2 separate regions of the Homo sapiens genome follow, and region 2 is linked to region 1. The links are contacts of gene promoters, found by promoter capture Hi-C in blood cells and fetal thymus (Javierre and others, 2016). All regions are on one chromosome and are shown on one strand. The core of a region is centred on a gene start or on the middle of the fragment in contact, and the rest is flanking DNA. Distances in the headings are between cores, read along the strand shown.

What was found. Contacts are between HindIII fragments. The CHiCAGO score rates a contact against its expected background, and 5 or more counts as called.
Region 2: the fragment with the promoter of ABHD3 here is called in contact with the fragment with the promoter of ESCO1 in region 1 in 13 of 17 cell types (monocytes, activated CD4 T cells, naive CD8 T cells and 10 more); the score reaches 8.3 in monocytes.

Annotation. Positions count from the first base shown.
Region 1 is chr18:21,599,001-21,602,680 of GRCh38, forward strand. ESCO1 (establishment of sister chromatid cohesion N-acetyltransferase 1) reads right to left here and starts at 1,704. Exons shown (of 12, transcript NM_052911.3): 1 at 1,623-1,704. RefSeq lists enhancers at 48-342, 1,410-1,929, 3,254-3,333. The HindIII fragment of the contact is 1,991 bases long and covers 689-2,679 here.
Region 2 is chr18:21,702,519-21,706,229 of GRCh38, forward strand. ABHD3 (abhydrolase domain containing 3, phospholipase) reads right to left here and starts at 2,256. Exons shown (of 9, transcript NM_138340.5): 1 at 1,986-2,256; 2 at 1,066-1,229. The coding sequence starts at 2,147. It also overlaps a transcript of MIB1 not described here. RefSeq lists enhancers at 984-1,133, 2,594-2,663 and a silencer at 1,654-2,423. The HindIII fragment of the contact is 12,122 bases long and covers 1-3,711 here.

The DNA.
Region 1 (3,680 bases), core at 454-2,953:
TACTCCCATGTCTAATTCCATTGATTAGATTTTTTGCTTTTCAAAAAAAAAAAAAAATTCACCAGGCACAGTGGCTCAGGCCTGTAATCCCAGCACTTTTGGAGGCCCAGGTGATCACTTGATCCCAGGAGTTCGAGACCAGCCTGGGCAACATGGCGAAACGCCGTCTCAACAACAAATAGAAAACTTAGCCTAACATGGTAGCGGACGCCTGTAGTCTCAGCCACTCAGGGAGGCGGAGGTGGGAGGATTGCTTGGGGCCGGGGAGGGAGGTCAAGGCTGCAGTGAACAGTGATTACACCACTGCAATCCAGTCTGGGCGACAGAGCGAGACCCCGTCTCAAAATAAAATAATAACTTAAAACTTTATTCGTGTTGGTGTCCTGTGTAAAGCAGAAACTAAGTACTTGACCAGAAGACAAAGTGAATATAGCATAGTTCACTGCAACCTGGATGTTTTCAACTGAAATCTATGTTTTATCCACTTTTTTAAAAAAGCCAATGCTGGTGGGGGGACTAACCACACCTTATGCCACCAAGTAGCGCTTTTGTTTCCTGCGAAGCTTATTTATTGAGATATCGTTTTGTAATACTATCTAGATACTGTGTGCTGCGATTCCTGTTTAAAGGAATCTCATTGCAGCTAAGACTACAGAAAACATGGTTCATAGTACTTCTCAAATCGCAAAGCTTGAGCTCCTTCCTCCTCCTCTTCCTCCCTCCCCTGGTCCCCGCTGCGTCCCCATCGCCCCGGAAAATAAAGCACACGCCGGATTTTCGGACGCATCATTGAGAGGCGGAGGGAGAGGAGGTAGTCTTCGAATTGTTGGACTTGCTATCCCATTCTGCCTGTGCAAAATAAACCCCCATAGTAAAATAATCTTAACCCGTGATAAAAATCGAGGACCCAATTCTCTTTGGTTCGCCTCTCTCCATCGCTATAAACTTCACTGCGGCCCTCAATGCACTCATTTCTACTCCAGAGCCGCCCTACCTGTGCCGAGACCCCCATTTGCAGCATGAGTTACTCTATGACCTTGGGCCCGCTCCCCTCCCAAACTGAAGGCTGTAAAACCAAGACCCCACATCGCGCCCCGCAAACTGCAGAGGCCTCCAGGCTCAGGCCGGGTCAGCGGGTTGCGCCAGGAGGCGGCGAGGGACTGGCTCCGGTGAAGCGCCGGGAAGAGAAAACGCAGGGGGCGGAGACGGGGCCCGGAGCTACCTGCGGGACCAGCACTGGCGCTGCCCCGGTGCTAGCAATGGCTGCGCGCCACCTCGGGGCTCCCGGAGCCCTCGCGGCAGTGCTGGGAACTCCGGCCCTGCCCCGTCGGCGGTCACGACCCCTTATGAACTTCGACCGCCCAGCAAACAGCGGCAGGTGGTGCGCGGACACGCGAGCACGTTAGCTGCCTACCTCAAGCGACGGCGTCTTGGAGCCTAGAGCCTCCCACCTCCCTCCCAGGGGCGCGAAGAGCTGGGACCGGAGCAGTAGGAAGGGGCGTGCGAGGCAACACGCCACCGAGGGTGGAACAGGAAGAGGGAGAACTGTCCGCTCCCTGAAGGGGCTGGCAAAAGAGAGGTGAAGACACAGGCGGCGGGGACCGTCAGGGACGCTCGCGTACCTTCCTTTTGCCTGGCGGAGGGTCAGACTAGCGCCAGCGGATCGCCTCACATCCGGGTATCAGGAGACACTCAGCTGCTTCTGCTGCGGCCGCCGCCTCCCCCGCGGCGCAAACACCAAACTTCCGGCGACGACGGCGACGCCTCGCTCGTCAGATGGGAGTTACCTGTGACCGTCTTGGGTGCGCTTGCGCAACGCTCCTCTTCAGCCCTAACCGGCTCAGCTGACGTGCCCAGAAGACGAAGATGGCCGCCACGCTCACTGCGTGTCACGCAGTTTTTCACCCCGGCCCGGACGGCTGGGCGTCGAGGAAAGGCGAGCTAGTGTCCATCCTCAGCGCAGGCGCGGTGGGAGGCCTAGCGCGCGCGCCTCCGCGGGTGGTCGCCTGGCAGGGAAGTGGCGGCGCCCCCTAGCGGCGGCCGCTTGTCGTTCCTGGGGTCATCGCTTTGAGCTGAAAACCACCCAGGCCCCCAGCGGTTGTGGTTTACCTTGGAAATTTGTCGCAACTGGTTGCCATGTAGGTTTTGGCTGCTTCTGTCTGCGATGTATAATCCAAGTGCCTTTGGTCTTCCATATGAGCCAATGTAAAGAAGGAGGGTGGGGCCGGGCGCGGTGGTTCACGCCTGTAATCCCAGCACTTTGGGAAGCAGAGGCGGGTGGATCATTTGAGGTTAGGAGTTCGAGACCAGCCTGGCCAACATGGCCAACATGGTGAAACCCCGTCTCTACTAGAAATACAAAAATTAGCCGGGTGGTAGTGGCGTGCGACTGTAATCCCAGCTACTCGAGAGGCTGAGGCGGGAGAATCCCTTGAGCCTGGGAGGCGGAGGTTGTGGTGAGCTGAGACTGGGCCACTGCACTCTAGTCTGGACGAGTGAGACCCTGTCTCAAATAAAAAAAAAAGGAGGGTGCAGTCCCTACACTGCCCTCCAGCACCTCCAAAAAATGCAGGGCTTCGCCCTCTCCTTGCACACTTTCTTCCTGTGTATCAGAGTGCAAGAATCATCAGAAATTGTAAAATATTCTGCTAGACTTAGTCAGACTGAGTGTTCAGACAAAGCTTTGGCTCGCTCTTGGACGCCTCTAGAGATAGAATCCAAGATTCTATCACTAGGATTCATGGTTCCCACACTTCTTTCTTTTGTGACAGGAAGGATCTTGCTGTGTAGCCCTGGCTGGTGTGCAGTGGCACAGTAACGGCTCACTGCAGCCTCGACTTGGGCTCAAGCGATCCCACCTGCCTCAGCCTCCCTGAGAACTGCATGTATGAAGCCCACGACACCATGCCAGGCTAATTTTTTTTTTTTTTTTTGAGATGGAGTCTCACTCTTGTCACCCAGGCTAGAGTGCAATGGCACGATCTCGGCTCACTGCAACCTCCGCCTCCCAGGTTCAAGGAATTCTCCTGCCTCAGCCTCCTGAGTAGCTGGGACTACAGGTGCCTGCCACCATGCCCGGCTAATTTTTTATTTTTAGTAGAGACGGGGTTTCACCATCTTGGCCAGGCTGGTCTCGAACTTCTGACCTTGTGATCCCACCTGCCTCGGCCTCCCAAAGTGCTGGGATTACAGGCGTAAGCCACCGCGCCCGGCCGCCAGGCTAATTTTTTTATATTTTGTAGGGATAAGGTCTCACTGAGACCAGCCCAGGCTGATCTCGAACTCCTGGCCTCAAGTGATCCTCTCTTCTCTCCTTGGCTTCCCAAAGCGCTGGGACTACAGGCCTAAGCCACTGCTCCGGCTACTAGACTGCTTTTGAACATATGTTCTGTGCTACCCTTTGCTTATTTGCGGAACTGTGAGGCTAGTTCGGTACTTCTGCATTTCAGAATGGGAAGAGGTGATCATAAATGGGTTTTCCCCTTCCTGCCCTCCTTCTTTGAAGCCAAGTACAACCAAAATGTGCTCTAAGTTTGTCAAACCTGATGTTTTTCTGACAATTCATCTTCCACGAATAGTGAGCTGCCTGTCAGTTTGCGCAGGGAGATGTTATGGCTTAAAAACAAAAACGAGGCTGGGCGCAGTGGCTCACGTTTGTAATCCCAGCTGTTTGGGAGGTA
Region 2 (3,711 bases), core at 1,006-3,505, 100 kb after region 1:
GACATTACTATTTACATGTTTTAAGTCATGTCTTAATTTTAATTCTAAACACATGACATTATTTGCTCATCAAAAAATAACATTTTTCCAGCATTCACGAACACACACCCATATCTCGATCTACATATCATTTTCTTTCATTAGAAGGATTTTATGAAGATTAGTACCATCAAGTATTTCCAGCAACCTCCGTACAAGGTCGTATATAAAAATGAACTGCTAATTATTAAGATAAATGAATACTTACTCATTACTCCAAAACATCCAGCATTTAACCCTTGTTTGATTGAGGTCACTCAACTAATGCGACAGGGAAGTCTGAGTAAGTAAAATGCTGATCTAATCTCTGACCACTGCTCTAGCTCTTTGGACTCAATAATGCAGTCTCCTTGTATAGTATACTTCAAGATTTTCTTCTGAAATAATTTAAATTATTTCTCACATAGTATTCATGAACTTACAGAATTTTCCCAAACAAACAGTGCAAGTTCCAGGCAACAAAATAAACTCCAGAAGGATAGATGACTAAGGGAAATTAATAACAGGCACCATTTAAATCTGGTTCCTGATAAATCCTGGACCGTATCTTTAACACATCAAGAGCTATTATCATCAAGATCCCATTTGCCTGTCAATAGGAAGTCATTTTACACCAATAAATCGCCCAAAACCCAAATTAAGTGGCATCCTTCTCACCCCACCCCCCCCCCCAGTATCTGCTACTTATCAATGAATGAATGCAGATCATCAAAAGATCTGGGTCTTTCTGACAGATGTATGACAAACTGCGAGACAGTAATCCCCAAACACTTCTCTCATCCTAAAAATAAACCATTTACATCAGGTTGGCGGTTAGGGCGGGGACCAGGAGGCAAATACCTGCAGCTGGGGTATTTTCCTGCAGCTGGGGGTGGAGCCGGGGACGTACCTTCCATTTTCATTCCCTCTTTCTGTTCTATATACTTCCTAAAGCAGATTCTATTAACCAAGAACTGGGAATAAGCAAGCAAGCAAACAAACAACCTGTGATTTTGCAGAAATGACTGAAAACGGAAATTCACTTACTTCCTGTACTGCACCGGGGGCTTCGAAGTGATGAAAGGTCTAAGCAGGGTCTGTCCTCGACCCTCCCAGCACCAGACCGTCGGGTAGTACGTTTCTGTAACCACGGGACAGTGGTCTTGAAGGAAGCGGCTGAAACTCTCACCCCCGGTCACTAACTGGGGTTTCTGAAGGGAAAAGCAGTATCAGAGAAGGGCCCAGAGCAAAGTTTCTGCCAACCGTAAACCAGAAACCGGCAAAGACTTGTCGCTCGCGCGCGCGCTTCCTCCGATTACAACTCTTTCTGGAGGGCTGACGCAAAAAATTCACAGTCACAGAGGACTGAAACGGGGGTTTCGCCAATGCCCCGAGGGGAAGGCGAGAATCGCGATAAGGGAGTTTGTTTGTTTTTAACTCCGCCTCCCGGGTTCAGGGGATTCTCCTGCCTCAGCCTCCCGAGTAGCTGGGATTGCAGGCGTCCGCCACCACGCCCGGCTAATTTTTTGTAATTGTAACGGGGTTTCACCATTTTGGTCAGGCTGGTCTCGAACTCTTGACCTCAGGTGATCCACCCGCCTCGGGCTCCCAAAGTGCTGAGATTACAGGCGTGAGCCACCGTGCCCTGCCCGGAGTCATTTTCAAAAGCGCCACGGCGTTCCCGAGTGCGCCGCCGGCTTCGCGATCGGTGACCGGGCAGCGCCGCAGCGCAGAAGTCAGCCGGGTTCAGGCTGCGCTCCGAGGACCACCCGGCCGGGACCCCCAGGGGGCGGGCGAACGGGCGGGGCCTGTTGGCTTTCCCGCGCGCGCTGGGGGCTGCCGCTCGGGAGCAGCTCGCCGCCTATCCCCGGGGCTGCCGACCGCCCCTGGCCGCGCAGCCTCGCGCCGCGCCTGCTACCCTAGCTCCTGGCCCAGCAGCCCGCGGCCCTGCGCCACCCCCGGCTCACCTTGGCAATGCTGCTCAGGTAGTAGAAGGCATAAGCGACGCTGAAGCCCAGGATAAGGGATAAGCCCACCCCCGAGCCGAAGAACCCCACCCGGACTTGGTGTTCCAGGTAGAGGGAGAGCTCCCGGGACAACATCCGCAGGTCCATGGCCAGGCGCTGCATGGCCCCCGAGCGCGGCGCGCGGGTCCTGCGGCGGGAGGAGAGCCGGCTGGCGAGCGGGCGAGAGCGGGCGAGAGCGGACGCGGCGCCGCTGCCTACTCCCGACCACAGTGTCTCCTGCCTGGCGGAGCGCGGCTTCCGACAACGGGCGGGGCGGAGCGGCCCAGGGAGGCGTAGCCCGAGACTCCAACGCCGCCCGCTCCGCCCCGGCTTCCTGGAGCCGCCCCCACTGCCAGCCACTCAGGAACCTTCCAGAAGCGCGGTTCCAAGACCGGCCACCGGGAGGGCGGGCGGACTGGGTTCTCCCAGCTAGGTCGCAGTGGGCGATGGGGATCCCCAAGGGTGGGCCGAGAGCTGACGGATCGGCAGCGCTGGTTAAGGCCCCGCACCTGCAGCCCCAGTGACCTTGAACGATTCCGCTCTGCGGCGGGTGTCCCTAAACTAGCAGTTTAGGGTGTCAGGTAAGCGTGCCTTGCATTCAAAGATTTGGGGAGTTAATGCCAAAGATATGTTAGCAGGTAAGAATCCCACATCCTCTAGACGTTTGCGTTGGTCCTCAAGACTATGGAAAGAGAAAAAATATTCTATGAGCATTCAACAGTGAGGACATCATACTCGACTCTGAATCACTCTGTGAATCTTTTTAGTTGCTAAGTGTCACTTAAATGAGAAGTGGTCTCTGAAAATAAATGAAAAGGTCAAGAATAGCAACCGGGATTCAATTGTTAAAAGCCTATTTGTGGTTCATTAATGCTTTGAATTTAGAGACTTATGGAAATTCACACCGATTACCTAATGTACAGACAAGAAACCATTTATGAAGTAGGGTCTCCTAGGCTTATTTATGGCAATATGATAAATCAGGATACTTATGGTTATCTGAAATGGTTAGAATTTAATAGCCTATTCCTACTCTTATGAACTCCTTCCTCAGAGAGGTAGGAAGAATGGCAAGACTTAAACAGACGAAAGAAGGGAAAGTGCTGTCTAGATTATGAAAAATGCCAAAGGATTGTAAATTAATGATGTAATTTAGATGGGGACATGAGACGGACCAGAAGTGAGCAATTTATTTGGCTCCGATTTGGTCATTGCAACTTGGTGGTTGGCTGCAGCACCCAAAATAATTCAATTACCTTTACTGAGCCTGTTTTTTTCTTGTTTTAATAATCTGTAGCGTAACAATTTCTACTTTATAGAGTTCCCGAGAGGACAAGATAGTGTATATACTGGACTCCCCGTGAGCAGAAGTAATTTTCACGCTCTGGCTCTCACACCTGAGCACACATAGCAAACGTGAATGCATATGCTGGTTGCCATACTTGAAACTTCATAGCATTCTTCATAACCCCTGCACCAGCCTTCTGCACTACCTACCAATAAATGCATGCGTATTTCAGTTTAAGTTTGTTCTGTTTTGTTTTGTTTTGTTTTTTGAGACAGAGTTTTGCTCTTGTTGCCCAGGCTGGAGTGCAATGGCGAGATCTCGGGTCACTGCAACCTCCACCTCCCGGGTTCACGTGATTCTCCTGCCTCAGCCTCCCGAGTACCTGGGATTACAGGCATG